Linked DNA regions of Homo sapiens: all the other regions are linked to region 3. The links are contacts of gene promoters, found by promoter capture Hi-C in blood cells and fetal thymus (Javierre and others, 2016). All regions are on one chromosome and are shown on one strand. Each heading gives the region's core, a stretch centred on a gene start or on the middle of the fragment in contact. The rest is flanking DNA. Distances are from core to core; before and after follow the strand shown.

The links. Contacts are between HindIII fragments. The CHiCAGO score rates a contact against its expected background, and 5 or more counts as called.
Region 1: a fragment that was not itself captured here is called in contact with the fragment with the promoter of ADAMTS9 in region 3 in 1 of 17 cell types (endothelial precursors); the score reaches 7.0 in endothelial precursors.
Region 2: a contact is called between a fragment that was not itself captured here and the fragment with the promoter of ADAMTS9 in region 3, in 1 of 17 cell types (endothelial precursors). The highest score is 5.4, in endothelial precursors.
Region 4: a contact is called between a fragment that was not itself captured here and the fragment with the promoter of ADAMTS9 in region 3, in 1 of 17 cell types (endothelial precursors). The highest score is 6.0, in endothelial precursors.

The regions. Positions count from the first base shown.
Region 1 is chr3:65,178,563-65,182,846 of GRCh38, forward strand. The region is part of intron 1 of LINC02040 (long intergenic non-protein coding RNA 2040); the gene reads left to right. It overlaps LOC105377127 (a long non-coding RNA gene), which reads right to left and starts at 417. Exons shown (of 4, transcript XR_001740736.1): 1 at 169-417. The HindIII fragment of the contact is 6,152 bases long and covers 1-4,284 here.
Region 2 is chr3:64,992,523-64,996,979 of GRCh38, forward strand. The region is part of intron 4 of ADAMTS9-AS2 (ADAMTS9 antisense RNA 2); the gene reads left to right. Among named protein-coding and RNA genes, the nearest start is that of LINC02040, 180 kb to the right of the region's middle. The HindIII fragment of the contact is 650 bases long and covers 1,168-1,817 here.
Region 3 is chr3:64,685,647-64,689,697 of GRCh38, forward strand. ADAMTS9 (ADAM metallopeptidase with thrombospondin type 1 motif 9) reads right to left here and starts at 2,354. Exons shown (of 40, transcript NM_182920.2): 1 at 1,897-2,354; 2 at 922-1,322. The coding sequence starts at 2,011. All of the region lies in intron 1 of ADAMTS9-AS2 (ADAMTS9 antisense RNA 2), which reads left to right. The HindIII fragment of the contact is 3,589 bases long and covers 1,371-4,051 here.
Region 4 is chr3:65,106,538-65,111,027 of GRCh38, forward strand. LOC105377125 (a long non-coding RNA gene) reads right to left here. Exons shown (of 3, transcript XR_940925.3): 2 at 2,263-2,385; 3 at 1,015-1,488. Among named protein-coding and RNA genes, the nearest start is that of LINC02040, 66 kb to the right of the region's middle. The HindIII fragment of the contact is 513 bases long and covers 1,193-1,705 here.

The DNA.
Region 1 (4,284 bases), core at 1,073-3,572, 490 kb after region 3:
GATGTGGTCGGCAGCTCTGACAGGGCTCCTAGCGACCTCTGCCTCCTGGTACGCAGGCACCTGTGGAATCCCCTTCCTTTGTGCACAGAACCTACTGACTCAGTTTTAACAAACGGAACATAGCACAGGTGATGAGATGTCATTTCCATGATGTGGTTGCAGTCTTACCTGCATCTCGCTGGCTTTCTGTCTCTGTTGCTGGCAGTCTCTCTTACCCTCTTGCTTGCTTGCTGCCATGTTGTGAGTTGCCCGATGGAGATGCCCACGTGGCAAGAAACCAAGGGTGGTTTACAGCTTATGAGGAGCTGAAACTCACTCCAACAACCCACAAGGATTGGAAGCCTGCCAACAAACACATGAGTGTTCTTAGAAGCGAATCCTCCCCAGGCAAGCCTTGAGATGACTATAGCCCTGTGAGAGACCCAAAGCTAGAGGACCCAGCTATACGTGGCACCTGGTTTCCTGATCCACAGAATCTGTGAAATCGTAAATATGTAGTCATTTTAAGTTGCTACATTTTAGGGTAATTGGTTGTACAGCAATAGATAACTAATACAAGATATAACCCTGCTGCCCCAATCTTTATCTCTTTTGTTTTAATTCCTTCCTTACACAAAAGGCTCACCTCTCCTATTCTTTGATGCATCCTTTTCTTATCATTCCACCAGCTCTAAAACTGAACTCTGCATCTCCTTAACCACACACCAGTATTTCCTCCTGACATCTATATTTTTCAAAAGTTTGCTCCTTTACACTCTTTTCTTCTTCCCCAAAGCTCAAATGAATGGAATGAGAAATGCTACATTGGCCATCTGGATTCAGAGCATTGGTGTTATCATTAACTTCTCCACTTTCCACACTGACAATTCCACACACAGCCACAGTGCCCTCAACCTGTTCCTCCTCTCTCCACCAAGGCTCTCGCATCCCTTCTTCCTTATTGTTTCCTTATGTTGGAACAATTGTACTTGTCTAACAGGTTTCTTCTCCAATTCATTTCGTACATACAAAGCCAGATTATACCTCCTAATACACCACTTTTCTCATTTTACATGAAATTTTTGCCTAGAAACCTACAAAATGTTCATTCATGTTTAGAAAATCACCTTTGATTATGACATTCACTCTGACAGTGCACCTAGCATGCCAGTTTTTATCTCTTTTGTGTTCAGGGCCTTACGAAAACTTGACTCATAAGGTTCAGAATTTCTAAGTCTTAGAGCAAAGTAAAACACCATAGCCAATTTGATAAAATAAATCCATCAGGGCTGTTGTTGCAGGTCAGGTCAAGAAGTAGACTGTGAGATGGAGATTATTAGCATGAGAAAAGATTATTAGGGAGTTCTTCAAGATTGACAGTGGTGGGGAAAGGGAAGGCCAGAGGAAGAAGTTGGGAGACGATGCAATCACAGCAAAGGCCTCAGCCTTAGAACGTCATTCTTGTAGGTAAGAGCCTAAAACAGGAAACAATTCAAATCTCCATCAACAAAATAAACTGTAGTATACTGAGACAAGGAATACTATGCAGTAATAAAAAAAAAAGGGCTACCATTAAGCTCAACAACAAGGGTGACTTTCACAGACACAATATTAAGCAAAAGCATCAGACACAAAAGAATGTGTGATTCCATGTACCTGAAGTTCAAGAGCTAACAAAACTAATCTATGGTGATAGAAGTTATAACAGTGGTTTCCTCTTAGGGAAAAGGGGTTACTGACTGGGAAGGGTCATGAGGGAACCTTCTAGGGATAGGGTCTGAATATATTCTATATCTTGATCTTGGTTGTGGTTATATAGGTGTATATACATATGTAAGAATTTCTCAAATTCTACACTAATATTTGTATACTATAATATATACACATTATAGCTTTTTATCAAGGGAAACATAAGTGTTGGCCCAAACAAAACAACAATTACCTCAAACAGAAATGTATTCATCTTCCTTGGAAGATCAGCTAAAACCACAGCCAGTTTGGGGGATTCGGGGTTTTTTTTGTTTGTTTGTTTTTGTTTTGTTTTGTTTTGTTTTGTTTTTTGTTTTTTTGAGAGACAGGGTCTTGCTCTGTCACCCAGACTGGAGTACAGTGGTACAATCATGTCTCACTGTAGCCTGAACCTCCCAGGCTTAAGCAATCCTCCCTCTTCAGCCTCCTGACTAGCTGGGACCACAGGTTCACATCACCACATCCAGCTAACTTTTAAATATTTTGTAGACACAGAGTCTTCCTATGTTGCCCAAGCTGGTCTCAAGCTCCTGGCCTCAAGCGATCCTCCCACCTAGCCCTCGCAAAGTGCTGGGATTGCAGGTATGAGCCACCATGCCAGGCCAAAATTTTTAAATGTGCTGTGTTTCTTCCCAAATTTTGAAAATAAGTGTTCATAACTACATAGCTGTATGTGTACCTCTACCCATAAAATACAGAACGCATGCCAATAGGAAGAGAAGACACCAGCATGTTGACGCTAGTAATCTCTGGCCACTTTAATTGTAGGCAATTTTAATTTTTTTCTATTTGATTTTCTAAAATTAACATTATTATTATTTGTGTAAGAAAAAGAGTGATTTTTTTAAAAATGCATTATCATTCATTGAGGAATAAACTAAAAGAAAAATGCAGTGCTGAAAGTGACATTGTAAACACCGTAATCCCTGAGAGTGTGTGTTAAACATCAGAGTGAAAAAGGGTAACTTTCTCAGGACCAACATGAGAGTGGACAAGGGGTATAGAAGACCCATGGGGGAAAGGTACCATGCTAAAAACAAGCTGCAAATGACCCTGGCTGCAGTGACAATACATTTAAATGGGAATGTCCAGTTGGAAGGAACACAGCATAACTGCTGACAATCAGTTAGGAATTTCTGGCAAGACGCAGGCAAAGACAGAGGGGCTGTCCCAGTAACATGGCTGTGATTTCTTACAAGGCCAAAAAAGAGCCCAGTTCTCTGACAAAGACTAGCTCTTCCTGTAGTGGTAGCCGCCGATGCTGCCTGAAGGACAGGCTAGAAAGACACAAAGCAAGAAAGCCTCTCAGTTCCTTACAGTTACCAGAGTAACCGGGACATCAGCCATGTTGCCTGGGAATACCCAGAGTAAGCCACAGTGGCAGGTAAATAAAAAAGGGTGTGAATTTGTCAGATTCCAAAGTCTTCCAGCCACTCTGTTTCAGTGACTACTGAAATCATTTCACAATGATCAGACTACTCCCAGAGTCCCTCGTGGAGAAACATCACATTCTCTGCCAGTCCAACTCAGGAACATGAATCCCCAGGGGCAGCTGAAGGAACACAGACATTTCAACGAAGAGTTTTTATAATAAGAGGGAAAAGATTCTTTCTCTCCAAAGGAGTCTGAAAGCTCACAAAAAGAAAAAAATTTAATTTCTTTATCACGTAGTATAAGTAAAATGATAATTGAAACAATAATTTAAGGATTTATTTTTGAGGAAGGAACAGAGACATGCTAGTGGCTGTGAAAGATGCCATTTGCCATTGTGGAAGCAAAAATAGCTTTGTGATCAGAAACACTAGTACTGGCTGCATGACCGTGGACAATTTACCTCTGTATACATCAGCTTCCTCATGCATAAGGTGGGGAGAATAATACCCATCTCACAGACTATTGTGAGGAGTAAATGCAGATAACATATATTATGTGCACTTGGTGCAATGCCTGGCAAGTACCAGGCACTCAATAATATATATCACGTGATCCATGCTGTTGTCACAGTTATGGACAATTCTCACTACAGCCTCTTTCTAAATTTCATTCCAGTCTCACCCCAGCTACAAAGTCTTCTTTTCATGCCTCGTATTGCATGCTCTTGTTTCAAAGATAGTGTCTAGCTCTATAAAAAGTGTACATAACAAGATCTAACCCAAGCCAACAGGCACAATAAGGCCACCGTTAAGTGAAGGTGGTAGAGTACACTGCAAACCCAGACAGAATGAAGCCCAGGTAAGTGAGAATTGTGTAAAGTCAGCTTGTCTGATTTTTCCCACTGTGGAGACATCAGAATCTTGACTCATAAAGTCTGGTATGGTTCACTTGTCCAAGGACCTACATATGAGAATACCCTGATATGTTATTTAATCATAAAACCTGAGAGGCTCGTGGAAAACAATGGAATCTTAATTCTATAAGGAAATCTACATTGTATAAAATTTGTAATAAATGACGCGTAGTCTCTAGCCATTCCTCACTGAGGAATTGGTGATCATCTCTTAACAATGACTTTGAGCAAAACAGTTTCACACTGTCTGGTCACAGAGAGACTTTACT
Region 2 (4,457 bases), core at 243-2,742, 310 kb after region 3:
AAACACCTGGAATCCTACCAGCTCCGATGAGCCCATTTGAATATAACTTTTCCCTAACAGTGGCCACCCACTTGGTTCCCCTTTCCCAGCAGGCGTAGCTCCGATAGTGAAATCAAATTCTGGCTGTCTGCTTTGGAAGTAAGTAGGGCAGTGGGGTGGGGGAAGGTGAAGGGATCCTCTGAGAACAGCCTGCTCCAAACTGAAAGGAAGTGAAAATCCTCCACATGTTGCAGGGATTGCTGGTAGATCATCCCCCAGTTCTCCTGCATCTGTTCTGCTGCCTCTTATAGAAACCAAGACAGGAAAAATGAAATGTACCTAAAACAGGAAATGAGGGTAGTCATTTGAATGATACAGTACCAGAACCCTGTAAAGTGTTTTGGGTGGGGTGGGCAGTGAAACAAAAGGCACCAATCATAGTGCTCACATCTGATCTCACACTCGGAAAAAGTAGGTACGTGAAGACAACAAACGATGGTGAGTGGAGAGGACTCCAGAGTCAGCACACACACATTCCCAATAGCCAGGTGGGTTCAACCGCTGCATACCTGTTAGCTCCTCAGGGTGGAATTTCCCAACTGCTGAGCCATGGTATGCTGGTTTTCCCTATGCTATTGATCCCCTCAGCCCTAGAGGTAATGGGCCAGCACTTCTGACAGCACTCTGGGCCAGCACTTCTGACAGCAGGCACTTCATAAATTAGTAAAATAGAGGAATTGACAGAATATTTTTATAGCAGGTAAAGAAAGTAAGAAAACATTAAGTGGGAAAAAGAAGTTAATAGCCATTAGCATGCAACTACTATGATTTTTATTATCCTTTTCCATGTAAAAAGACATATAAAGAACTAGGAAGCATTAGAACTACCATAGGTCATCCTCTCATTAAATAAAGTCCAAAAAAAAAAAAAAAAAAACAACAAAAAAAAAAAACAAGGGCCAGGGGGTGGGAGTTGGAGAGGGGCTTATAGCTCAAGGTACTATTTTTCTGTGGAAGGCCCGTTACTGTTAATACGTGTGCTATAAAATAAAGAGGAGTCAGATGAATTTGGGGAAAACCAAGTTTTTTAAAAGGTATATGTCATTTCAGGAATTCCTAGGGCCTGTAACTGATAAAAATATATTGCGACTTTCCACAAGCAGAAATAGCATAGAATTATTGCGCCAAAGCTTTTCGACCATAGAATATCACCTGAGGAATACGCTTTGCAAATTGCTACAGTAATCTCTCTCTCACTGCTGCACCCACGCTTCACTGAATGTGTGGTGTAGAATGGGTTCTGATCCTCTCCCACCTGATGATATGGTTGTCCCCACACTGGCTTTTTTCTTTTACTTATGGCAAGCGATCGGCCTGATAAAGCTGAAACTACTAATGGGCTATTCAGGGGCTTTCATCCACCTGAGTCCAAAGCCTTTGCAAAATGACTTCCCGGAACTCAGAGGCAGTCTGCAGCTGGAGCAGTTAGCACTTCGCCAGAAAATAGTTTGTCTTCGTTTTCAGTGTATTTTTCTTTTCTCAGAAGAAAGAAAACAAATAGTCTCAAGTAAATGAATAGAGGAACATGCAGAATTCTCTTTAAAATGGCAGCTTCATGACTTTGCCAAATAAATGAAGATATATTTTAGACATGTATACTCGCTTTACATCTAACTGTGATTTCTTGTTACTTTGCTGATTTTCTTTGAAAATGGAATATAAATATTCAGTAACAGGGATTGTTCTGTTGATGAAGTCTAGTTAAGTTGTAATAACAACTAAATTGATTAAGAACATAGGGCTAAGAATCATGTAGCCTCTTAATCTCACTTTTTCTAAGCTTCCAGGTAGCCCTTTATTTTGCAGTAATGGAAACTCCAGCCATCTGAGCAGAATTCATATGAAGTCTACATGCCAAAGAAATAGAATTTTGCATTTATTTTCTGTTTTCTACTTCCACTTGGAAAGTATCTTTTTCCCCCTAGAAACACATTTAAAAGGGTATAAAAGGGGCTTTCTGTTTGGGGCCAGAACCAGAAAAGGAAAGACAATGGAGAAAAAAAATATTAGCTCAGCTTTTCCGGACTTGAAATAATGTGTGATTTTTGCAGTTTCTCCAACTTTTGAGACTAGGTCTGGTAGAATGCTTAATTCTTTCAGCTGGCGAATCACCTTTCCTCTATGGGGATATTAATGCCCAGTTAAAATTTCTCCATACGAATAAGGAAAAAAACATTTGAATACAGCAGAGCTGTGACTAGATTGATAAATAAAATCATTCTGTCCCTACCCCATTAATTCTCCCTTTCACCGTTTGGAGGTCCTGTGGGCTGAAGCAGTACATCATTTAAATAGTACCTTCAGGTGTTTCACTGAGACCTAATTAAAATTGATGTTGTCATCTGGTGTTTCCTTGTGCAATTTGTCTAGCTCCATGCAAATTGCAAAACAGAGCTCTTGATTAGGACTTTGTCCTTCTTCAAGAAACTGCCCAAGATTTCCTTTAGGTGCTCCAGAAAACGATTTGGCCAGTTGGGAAAAAAAACTTAAGAGTCACTGCGTTCACTGATTTCCTTGGCAAGATATCCAAGTGGTCCTTTTGAATGGATCAGCTGTGACAAGTAAGGCAGTATCCCCCAAGACTTTCCATTCCATAATTGAATTAAAAAAAAAAATTCTTACGATTATTTGTTCTCACAAAATATACGTATCAGTCTCATACTATGTACCTTGGAAATAAGGCTATGTATAGGCAACAAGACCCCATCCTTTGGTGGAGCTCAGACTAGCAGGAAGACAGACATCAACTAGTAATTAACAATAACACATAATGAAGGCATCAGGAAGAAGGAACTGGCGCTGTGTATTTAACGTAGGGGTCAGGAAGGCCACTTCCCTGAGGAAAGGAAATCAAGACACCTCCAGAAGGATACCGACTGGAGATGAGGCTGGAGAGGGTACCACCCTCTCCAGATATGTGCTGTATATCATCAGAATAACAGAGCTAGACATTTGCTTTCTATCCTTCATGCTTTTGTTCAAGTTTTCCCTTTATATTTACAAACTAAAGACCAATTTCTCCTCATAGAAGACTATTAATAAGTTTGTAGCTATGGTCCTTTCTTTTGTGTTTCTTTAGAAAACAATGATTTAAAAATAAAAGCTACCATTTATTAAATGTTCACATTGTGTCAAGCCCATTGAATTCTCACAAATGTTTTCATTTCATCAACTTTTGAAAGAAACTGGAGTTCAGAAGTTTTACTCAACTAGGCAGTGGCCTAGCTAGGAATCAAAGCCAGATCTGAGACATTGAAGTGTCCAATTTTTACCAGTTTACTGGGGTTTTCTTCAATGTTCACATCTACAAACCACTTCATCAAAACGATGAGGGGAGTGTTTGTTAAAAAGACAGAGTTCCAGCCCCGCTCCGTGCAACACCCCACCCCCCACCCCCTGCAGCTGTTTTGAGTCTGAATCTCTGAGGATGTGGACGGAGAATTTGCAGTTCAACAAGTTCCCCAGGGGCTTCCCATGCATTTGAGAATCAGCACACTGCACACAGCTATGCACTTGTAAGACCGGGGTGTGGAGAGACAGACCACTGCTAAGGCAGTTTACTGTACTCTTGTCCACGATCTTGGATTGTTCTCTTGGCCATTTGATGAAATACTACAATGCAGAATGGTTATGATTTTCAAACTGCAAATAGTTTAGCCCCACATTTTGGCAAGATATCTAGGCAGAGCTCACAGAAGAGCTGCTTATTCAGGCTTCAGCCAAGCTGTGAAAAGTGAGGCCTTTTGAGAGGAAGTGAGATAAGACAAAAACTTAAAAAAACAAACATTCTGAGGCCGGTGTTTAAAAGGCCACTGGCAAAATCTATAGCCTAACTAGAAGTGAGCTAAACAAACACATTACTGGGCCATCCAGGAAACATGAAGCAGCTGCCTGGAAGTGGGATGTGTGTTTTCAACCTGGGTAGAAATATCCCGGGGAGTGATGATATGGAATCGGACACAAAGTTCACATCAAAACAACAATGGAGATTTGCAACGGGCAGTGCATCCAGGATGGACAGGAGATGTTCCAGTCAAGTGGTTCAGAGCAAGTTCAGGGTAGGAGGGAGAGCTGTGTCCAATCTCACTTAAACTTATATGCCTTCATTTGTGCCTCCTCGTGGAATTATCTCATGGCCGCTATTTGAAAAAGAAATGGCAGTGGAGACCTACTGGCTAGGGCCAAAGCTTCATAGCTTTTGAATAACGAAAAAATTGTGGTGCTGCCTACTCTTTCCCGTTACATAATATAAGATAAAAACAATACCAATTCAGCAACATTCCAAGTTTTCCTCTGAGACTCATTCAATGCTTTTTTAGAAATGCAAACTATCAATTTCTTGAAGAAAAAAAAAAGGATTTTGTGTGCTTGGCTAGTGCCCTCCACACAAGATTAATTCAGTGAGATAGTGTTCAGTA
Region 3 (4,051 bases), core at 1,104-3,603:
AGTCGGGGAACCAACGTGGATTCCCTGCTAAATGCTATTTGGCAGCGCAAGAAGGCGGCCTCCCCGCCCTGCCTCAGTCCCTAGGGAAACGTGCGCCGCAGGCTCCCTCTCTCCACTCCCTGGAACCCGTGAGTAGTAGAAACCCCAGAGGAACCGAAATCACGTCCGGACAGCCTCTCCAGGCTGTCTCCCACTATCCCGTTTCTCCCGGCCACCCCGCCAGTAGGGTGCAGAGTTGGACTGCGCTGCACCCCCACTCTCGGTTCCACCCCAATTCAAAGCGTCCGGGGTAGGCTCCGCCTTCTCCCCCGCCCCCAGAGCCCTCGGCCCACCCTTCCGTTCCTGGGACGGGACCTGCTCCCTGTCAATCCAGTTCAGCCTCAGGGTTCCTGGCGCGTGAATAAAGGCCCTGAGAGAAAGCGGGGACTCTAGATTACGCACCGCCCTCCACAACACACACTGAAGGAACTCCCAGTGCCTTGGGCAGGGGATCCTCAGCCCCACATCCCCGATGCAAGGCGCACCAATAAGGAGTCTGGTCCGCCCTGCGCTCAGCGGCTCCGCTCCCGGGTGGCCAAGTTTGCTGCAGGGAACCGCAACTCCAGTAACTTTCTCCGAGTTTGGAAACTGACTTCCAGGCCGCCTCGCAGCGTTGGGCAACGCGCCGCTGAACCGAGTCCAAACTCCAGAAAGCTCTGAAACATCCAGAAGCCCCTGGGGGCGGGTGTGTGCGCTCCACGCCAGTGTACTCGCACGCACAGAGCTAGCTACCCAAACCATACGAGTTTCTAGCTGATATTTAACGCCGGAGAGGAGCGGAGCCTCGCCACAGTGAGGGTCTCTAGGCTTAGAGGACAATTAAGTCTTCTAGAAGCGGGCGAGGAGGCGGAAGGGGAGAGGAGGTGGCGCGCGCCCACTTACCATTCCTGAGCAGAGGCTGATGACGGCCGTGTGCTCGGAGTTGGTATTGACATAGCCTTTGTAGAAACAGTGCTTGAGTTCCGCTTCCTCTTCGGAATAAAACTTGGTCTGATTCACCCCGGGCGTCCCGAGGAGGGTGACAGTGAACAGTGGAGCGATAAATCCGGCATTGGCGGTGAGATTAAATAGAAACTGCTGGCCGAAGGCAGAGAGGCGGTAATGCGCCTGGGAGGAGGTAGAGGAGGAAGAGGAGGAGGCGAAGGCAGGCCAGGGGTCAGTGGCAGAGTTAATGCTCCGTCGCGTTCTTTTGAAGTGGACGTTCGTGGGAAAGGGTTCTCCGAGAGCGTTCACTCGGATGGGAGACACGATTTCGTATTCGCTCAGGGTCTCTAATAATTTCACTGCGGAGAGAAGCAGAGGTATATGAACCAATAATTCATTTTTCCTTAAGCTTTAATTTAAAACGAAGGTGGGGACTTTGTTCTGACCTTATTTTCCAGCCCATTCGAGTCAATCCCTTCACCCTTAATCAGTGGACAAATATTTGCTGAGCACCTACTATGTGCCAGTAACAGGACCTGTGCTAGGTGCTGAGGATACACTATTCCGAGCCAGACAATTAACAAGTCAAAATATATATGATTTCAGATATTGATAAATAACCTGAATAAAATAAAACATGACGCTATCTGGTGCCCCCAATTACTAAGTTACTTTAGTTTGCGGCGTGGGAGTGGGGATGGGGATATATCTGGCAACAGCAAGGTAGGGGGGGGTTGCCTAAATTCGTTTCCATAGTGTCCCTCCCTAGCAATTGGTTGGGGATGACCCAAAGAAGGGAGAGGCTGCAAAGCGGGAGATAATTCTTTCTAGGAAAAGGAGAGAAGCCTCCGCTGCGGGGTGCCCCTGCCCAGGAGCGAGGACCGGGAGGCGGCGTCGGGGCCGGCGGGGTCCCGGGGGCCGGAGCCTGGTTACCTTGCCTCGGGTGCAGCCTGTCCTTGCGCACGGCCGCCGCGGCGTCTGGGCTCCCCATCTCGGCCAGGTCCCGCACCAGGAGCGTTAGCAGTGTGGCCCAGGATACAAACTGCATGGTGCTTCCCACCCCTCCCTCCGCTGCCCCCACCCCCCTCCCTCCTGCCCTCCTTGGCTGCGGCGGCGACGCGAGGCAGCGGCCGTGGAGAGCGCGCGGAGCCCGGCGCCCGCCGCCAACTTTTGACTTTAGGAGTCGCTGAGGTCTCGCTGCGAGGGTCCCGTCTGCGCTCGGCTGAGCAACGCCGCCGCCTGCCGAGAGCTGAGCCGCTCGGGCCGCAGGAGGAGCCGGAGGAGCAGGAGGAGGAGGAGGACTGGGGCTCGGCTGCTTGGCCGCATAATGCCCAGCGAGCGGGCAGGAGAAGGCGAGGAACTTGCGCTCCGAGGCGCGCCGGGCGCCCTGTGCTGGCCGGGATAGCTGAGCGGCTTCTTGAATGGGGGGCTGGGGGGGCGGAGGCGGGGGGGCCGCGGGTCCACAGCCTCTCAAATGCCCCCGGTGCACGCCTCTAAGAGGAGGAGAGGGGAGGAGAAAGCGAGACGAACGGGGACCGCCTCCTTCCAGACCATGTCCCCTCCTCGGCCGGCCCGTGCGGGACTCGCAGCCGGAGGCCCTGCCGGCTGCAAGAGGCGGAGGCCAGAGGCGTCACCAGCGCCGGGGCAGCTGTTCCTGGTCCCCGCCACCTCGCTGAAGTGGGGTTTTCTGAGATTCCCTGCCCCGGGGAGGGAAAGCAGGGAAAGTTCTCTCCCTTTCCTGGCGCGCGTGCAGCCACTTCCCCTCTCGTCTTTTTCCTCTCCTCTCCTCTCTCTCCTCCCTTCCGAGTCTCTTTTTCCTCCTCCCCCTTGTCTCTCTGCTGCTGTGCCTCTCGGACTCTGTCCCTTCTCCCCATTTTCCCCTGTGATGTCTGTCTTCTCCCCGCCCCACCGTGTCCCTGTCTGTTTCTCACATTTCTCCTTTTCCTTTCCTTTCTCTTCCGTCCCCATCTCTTGCCACCAGTCCCCATCTTTTGGTTTCTTACAAGTGAAAGTGGCCCAGCGCCGGAGCGCCTTCCCTTCCTACACTTTTTCATTCGGGAAGAGATTTGGCACCTGAGCTCCGCTCTCGATTTAATCACCCCAAGTCAAGAGTTTTAGAAATGGGGTTCTTAATCCTGCAGGTCGGAGTGTGTTTCTAATACGTGGTCTCTTGAAAATTTCGCAAAATATTTAAGCTGTGCTTTCCACCAACCTCTGTCACCATTCATGGAGGGTCCATAGCATTCTGTAGGTCCCCTGCCCCAAAAAAGGTTAAGAACAAATTTTGGCAGCAAGAAGGGGCGGGGACTCTGGCGCCCCTCACTACCAGGGGGTTTAGAGATGGGAGGGGAAGGGGGGATGGAGTGTAAAGTTGTAGATCCCTGTGGGAGGCACCAGTCCCTGGAGGGATTTCTCAATCACTTCCGCTTGCTTTCAGCCTGAGAGATGCTTGGAAAGACTGGGAAAGACTGAAAGCAGGCGCTTCAAGCTACACCTTCGTGTGTGTGTGTGTGTGTGTGTGTGTGTGTGTGTGTGTGAATTGTTCAATCTTGGGTGGTTCAGTGGCGCCTTTTCTTTAACCAGCCCTCAGGAAGATAGAATTTCAAGATAATTTCAAGAGGAAAGACATGACAATATCGTTAAAAATATATAAATATATGACTAATAAATATATATTTGCCCAAGTATCCTAGAACGGGGGTTGAGGTTCTGTTGCGTGGTAGGTTAGCACTCAGGACTAGAAATACCAAAGATTGCCAACACCAGGAACCAAATCGCAATATGCTAGCAATGTCAACTATTCTTGAGATACTAATACATATATTTCTTCTGGTGAAGGGTAAAAATGACTTGGCAAGACGAATTTGCTAAATAATTGTTAACCCAAATTGATAATGTTACCATCGTCTTATTACTGGAATTTCATAATGGATATGTAAAATGTAAGGATGGAAAAATAACATCTGTATTGTGCACAATTAGAGATTTTTAGAGAATGGCATTTAAACCTTGAACCTCCAAATTAATTCACTAAAATACGTTTCTTCTAATACACAATCTTTCTTTTTATTATAACAACATTCCCCAC
Region 4 (4,490 bases), core at 199-2,698, 420 kb after region 3:
TCTTGAACTTCTTTCTGGTATAAAAAGAATGATATTTTGAGTATAGTTTTCTTTCTTCCCATTTATTTCAATCAAATAATAATGTGCCCCAATATTTCTCTGAGATAGCCACACTATATCATCATGAGCAGTGCTAATAATCAGATTCATGAAACGCACAAGGAAATACTCAAAGCTGACTTTAAAAAGCACCATCTTATATAACCCTGAGGTTTCCTCCCTCCACTTTAAATGATCCTTCTTAGCAGCTTGCCATTCATCACAGAAACCGATCACAGAAACCACAAGGGCATTGATCATATTTCTTGAGTCTATGCATTTGTATAATCTCATTGTCTTTATAGCGGGTGCAGAATAAGAACTTCTGACAACATCCGTTTCCTCTGCTGGGAAATAATAGATGTCTGTATAATACCAGTGATACTGGTCTGATGGCCAGCCAGTGGTTTACAATTTCCAGTAGAATTTGCCTTTATGTGTTATTTTTCTAACAGTACTGTTACTATAAAATATAAGGAAGAGTGTACTGGGGAGAAGGGTAGTGGTAGGGAAAGAATAAGAGACAGGAATAGAGGTCGCAGTTGAGGGAGCTGCAAGGTGCTTGGAGCTATTTGGCCTTTTGTGCACAATTGATAAAACCGTTTAAATTATGGTGGGTTGTGCTGCTCCAGCTAAAATTCAGTGGAGAGGATTTAAAAATATAAAAATTAGATGCAGAGAACTAAACAAAGCAATCAGTATGTGCAGAAGTTGGAGGTACCAGGACCAGCTTTTGTTGCAAATCTTTGGGCAGATGACATAATTTGGGCATAATATACATCTTTCACAGCCAAACAACATAACCCGTGATGAACAGAGCGTCCGGACAAAGATAAACCCTGTGAGTCACACGCAATTCTTTTCTCAGCAAACAGTGGAATTACATCCAGCTTGGTTGGTGGAAAAGACAGCCAAGGCATTTTCCTTTCTTTGAGTATCTTAATATAATGAAGGGATAACATATGAGAGGGAACATAAAGAAGGAGAAAACTTTATTAGAGAAGGAAACATTGTCAAATAACTAGACAGCAAAGAGACATAGGGTAACAGATTTCCTGAGATATATCCCCTGGGTACCAAATAAATTACAGGATTGGAAGAAAAACAAAGACCAAGATGAAATGTAATGTGGGAGTGTAAAAACTGAGAAGAAAGCTTATGAAGAGAAAGAAAAATAGAAATAGGAAAAACTGAGAAGAGAGGAAAGAAAATACAAAAAGAAGAGGAGGTAGAAGCCTGCTTTGTCCTCCTTTCATTGATGCACATCAGTAAGGGTCAGTCTTTGCACATTTGTTTCATCATTACTTCCACTTTCTCTTCTTTCTCACTTTTTCCCACTTCAGAATTGGGAAAGAAAGGAACTGCCAGAGATGCTTCCAGGCTCCCCTTTACTGCCATGCACAACTTGGATTTTCTTTGTCTTGCCAAGACAGCATAAAATGGGGTTCCCTGAAAGGAAATCAGGGTACTGTTAGGAAAGGACAATGAGGTTGAACAACCAAAACACAACAATATCCACACAGAATTGATTCTGTGAGCTAGTCTTATCTTACATTGAGCTCCAACCATTCACAGCTTAATGAAGGGGAACTGAAAAGCAAAGATGCTAAAAAATAACAACAACAAAAAGAAAAAATATATATATGCAATGTTCCAAAAAAGATGAAGCTTTCCCTAACCTCATAGAACAGAAATAGAAATAAAAGCTCAATGTAGTTTTCCTATCCTGTGAGTCTGCTTCAAGAATAAAATCGCTAGGTTAATTGAACTCTGACCTCTTAACATTTTCATTAAAAATGTAAAAATATTGTTTGATCATCTCTTGAAAACTAAAATGAGCTATACTTTCAGTCATTTTTGTAGTTGTCATATTTATGTTTTCATCTTTTATTATGCCCCCTGACTTTAAGATTTAGGTATACTAAATTTTATCCTCTATAAACAAATTGATGCTTTTCTATGACATTTCCTAAAAGACAAGTGGCTATTTTTCTTTTTCCTTTTGGCACATTCTTTGCTGCTTCTTAATTTTTTTTAATCTCCAGAAAATGTCTTTCAACTTTTTTTCTTCATGAGAATGCTCTTCAAGTCTCTCAGAACCTGTCATGTTATACTACTTTACATACAAAATTATACATAATTATTGTAAATGCATTTACAAATGACTAAATGGCAAATGTTTACAGATGCATACTTACAGACATGTATATATTCAATATTTACCTTATAAATAAATTTAGTCAGACTCTTTGTTAAGTGGATGGTTATTAACATGTCAAAATATGGTTCTGAGAGTATGACTTTATAACATCAGGATAGTTGATATGTACTGACAAGGACTGATGTCTAGAAATGTTAAGAGAAAAAAATAAGCTGCAGATCAATATATATACTATAATCCTTTGAATTTTTTAAAAATATCCTAAGTACAGATTCATGTATTAGGTTATAATTGGTTTTGCTGTGGTAACTAGCTTATTCTGAAATCTCAGTGATTAAACACAAGGAAGATATAGTTTGTTCATGGTACATATATAACACTCATATGCACAATGAGAGAAGAATGCTAATCCATATAGTCATTCAGGGACCCAGGCTTCCATCACATTGCATATGTAACATTTAGAAGATGGAGCCTCCTCAGTCTTCACAAGAAAGTAAGAAGGCTCATGGAAAACTCATTCTTACCATTATGCATCAGCCCAGCAATGACAAATATTACTTCTTCTTTGAGACAGGGTCTCGCTCTGTTGCCTAGGCTGGAGTGCAGTGGTGTAATCATTGCTCGCTGTAACCTTGAACTCCTGGGCTCAAGAAATTCTCCCACCTCAGCCTCCCAGGTAGCTAGGACTACAGATGCATGCCACCACACTCAACTAATTTAAAAAATTTTTTGGTAGAGACAGGGTCTTGCTATGTTACCCAGGCTGATTTTGACCTCCTGGCCTCAAGCAATCCTCCTGCCTCAGCTTCCCAAAGTGATGGGATTACTGGCATGAGCCACTGTGCCTGGCCTCACTTCTGTTTATAGTATATGGGCCTAAGCTAGTCTCAAGGCCAATATGAGCTGCAAGGAAACTGGAATTGGGAAGAGCACATGGATATACAGTAAATATTTCTAACAGTACACACACACATATGCGCGCGCGCACACACACACACACACACACACAGAGAGACAGAGACAGAGAGAGAGAGAGATGCAAAATGCAAATTTAAAAGCTCCAGAAAGAAAAAAAAATCTATCTAGTGAGTACCTTTGAGGAGAGAAGTGAAATTAGGGAAAGAATGAAGAAAAATTCTATTATATTATATGCTTCCAAATTTTTGCATTTTTAAAATAAAATCAGGTCTTACATGAGTTATTCTGAGACAATCTGGTTGAAATAAAACTGGTAAATAAGTGGTTAAAAGGCAGTACAAAATAGTTTCCATCAATGGCCCAGCATCAAGCATGGGCATAGTTTTCAGGGATCAACCAGGGCTCTCTATGATTTAGTGGCTGTTGTTTGATCAATGGTTGAAATGTTAGAGTGGAGAGCCTGCTGATTAAGTTCATGGATGAAGCTATGTTAACTAAAACTTTGGGAGCTGTGATTAAGATCCAAACTGGCCTGTCAGAAGTGAGCTATGGCCAAGTGTGGGGTGTGAGTATACTTGGGAGTGAAGAATGAATCTCTGAAGACTGCAAGGGTCAGACAAAAATACTTGAGTGCCTCTGGATTCAGTGTAAATCACATGCCAGATGGATGCCTGGAATAAACTGGGTTGCTTTAAGAAATGTAGCATTGCTTAGGCATTTCAAGTTTTAAGAGAAGACAGGAAAGGAAAGAAAGGAACATATCTTCAGAGTTTGTATTCAAGATCATCAGGCAAAAATAAATAAACAAATTACTGAACAGGGTGGACTGTGTATCAGAGCATGTGCTACAGTGGTAAATAATGCAGACACTGTCATCATCTTTATGGAGATCATGTCTAGCTGCTCTCTTTACATCCAAGACTTCTCTCTTTTGGTCTCTAGGTTGACTTGTCCAGGGACCAGCAGCAAGAGACTCTCTTGAGAACTTATTAGAAATGCAGAATATGAGCTCAATCCCAGACCTAACGAATCAGAATCTGCTTTCTAACAAGGTCCCTCAGGTGGTTCATGTGCACATTCATTTGTGGAAAGCACAGGTCTAGGTTATATCTTCCTCCTCGAACTTACCTACCCTATTAAGGAGAAAGCCTTCTTACTCACTTTGCAATTGCCTTGTCTTTGATTTTTATCTACACATGGATAGCCTCAAGAGAATTGAAAGACATAGGAGAGGTTAAGCAGACATACATAATGAAGGGGTGAATAGAGAGGGGAAGTGCAAAGAGAAATATTCAGGCAGGAGGAGATTATGGGAAAGTTCAGGGAAATGTAGAGACAGGAGGAGAGAGAAATGGAGGGCAACTGCAAA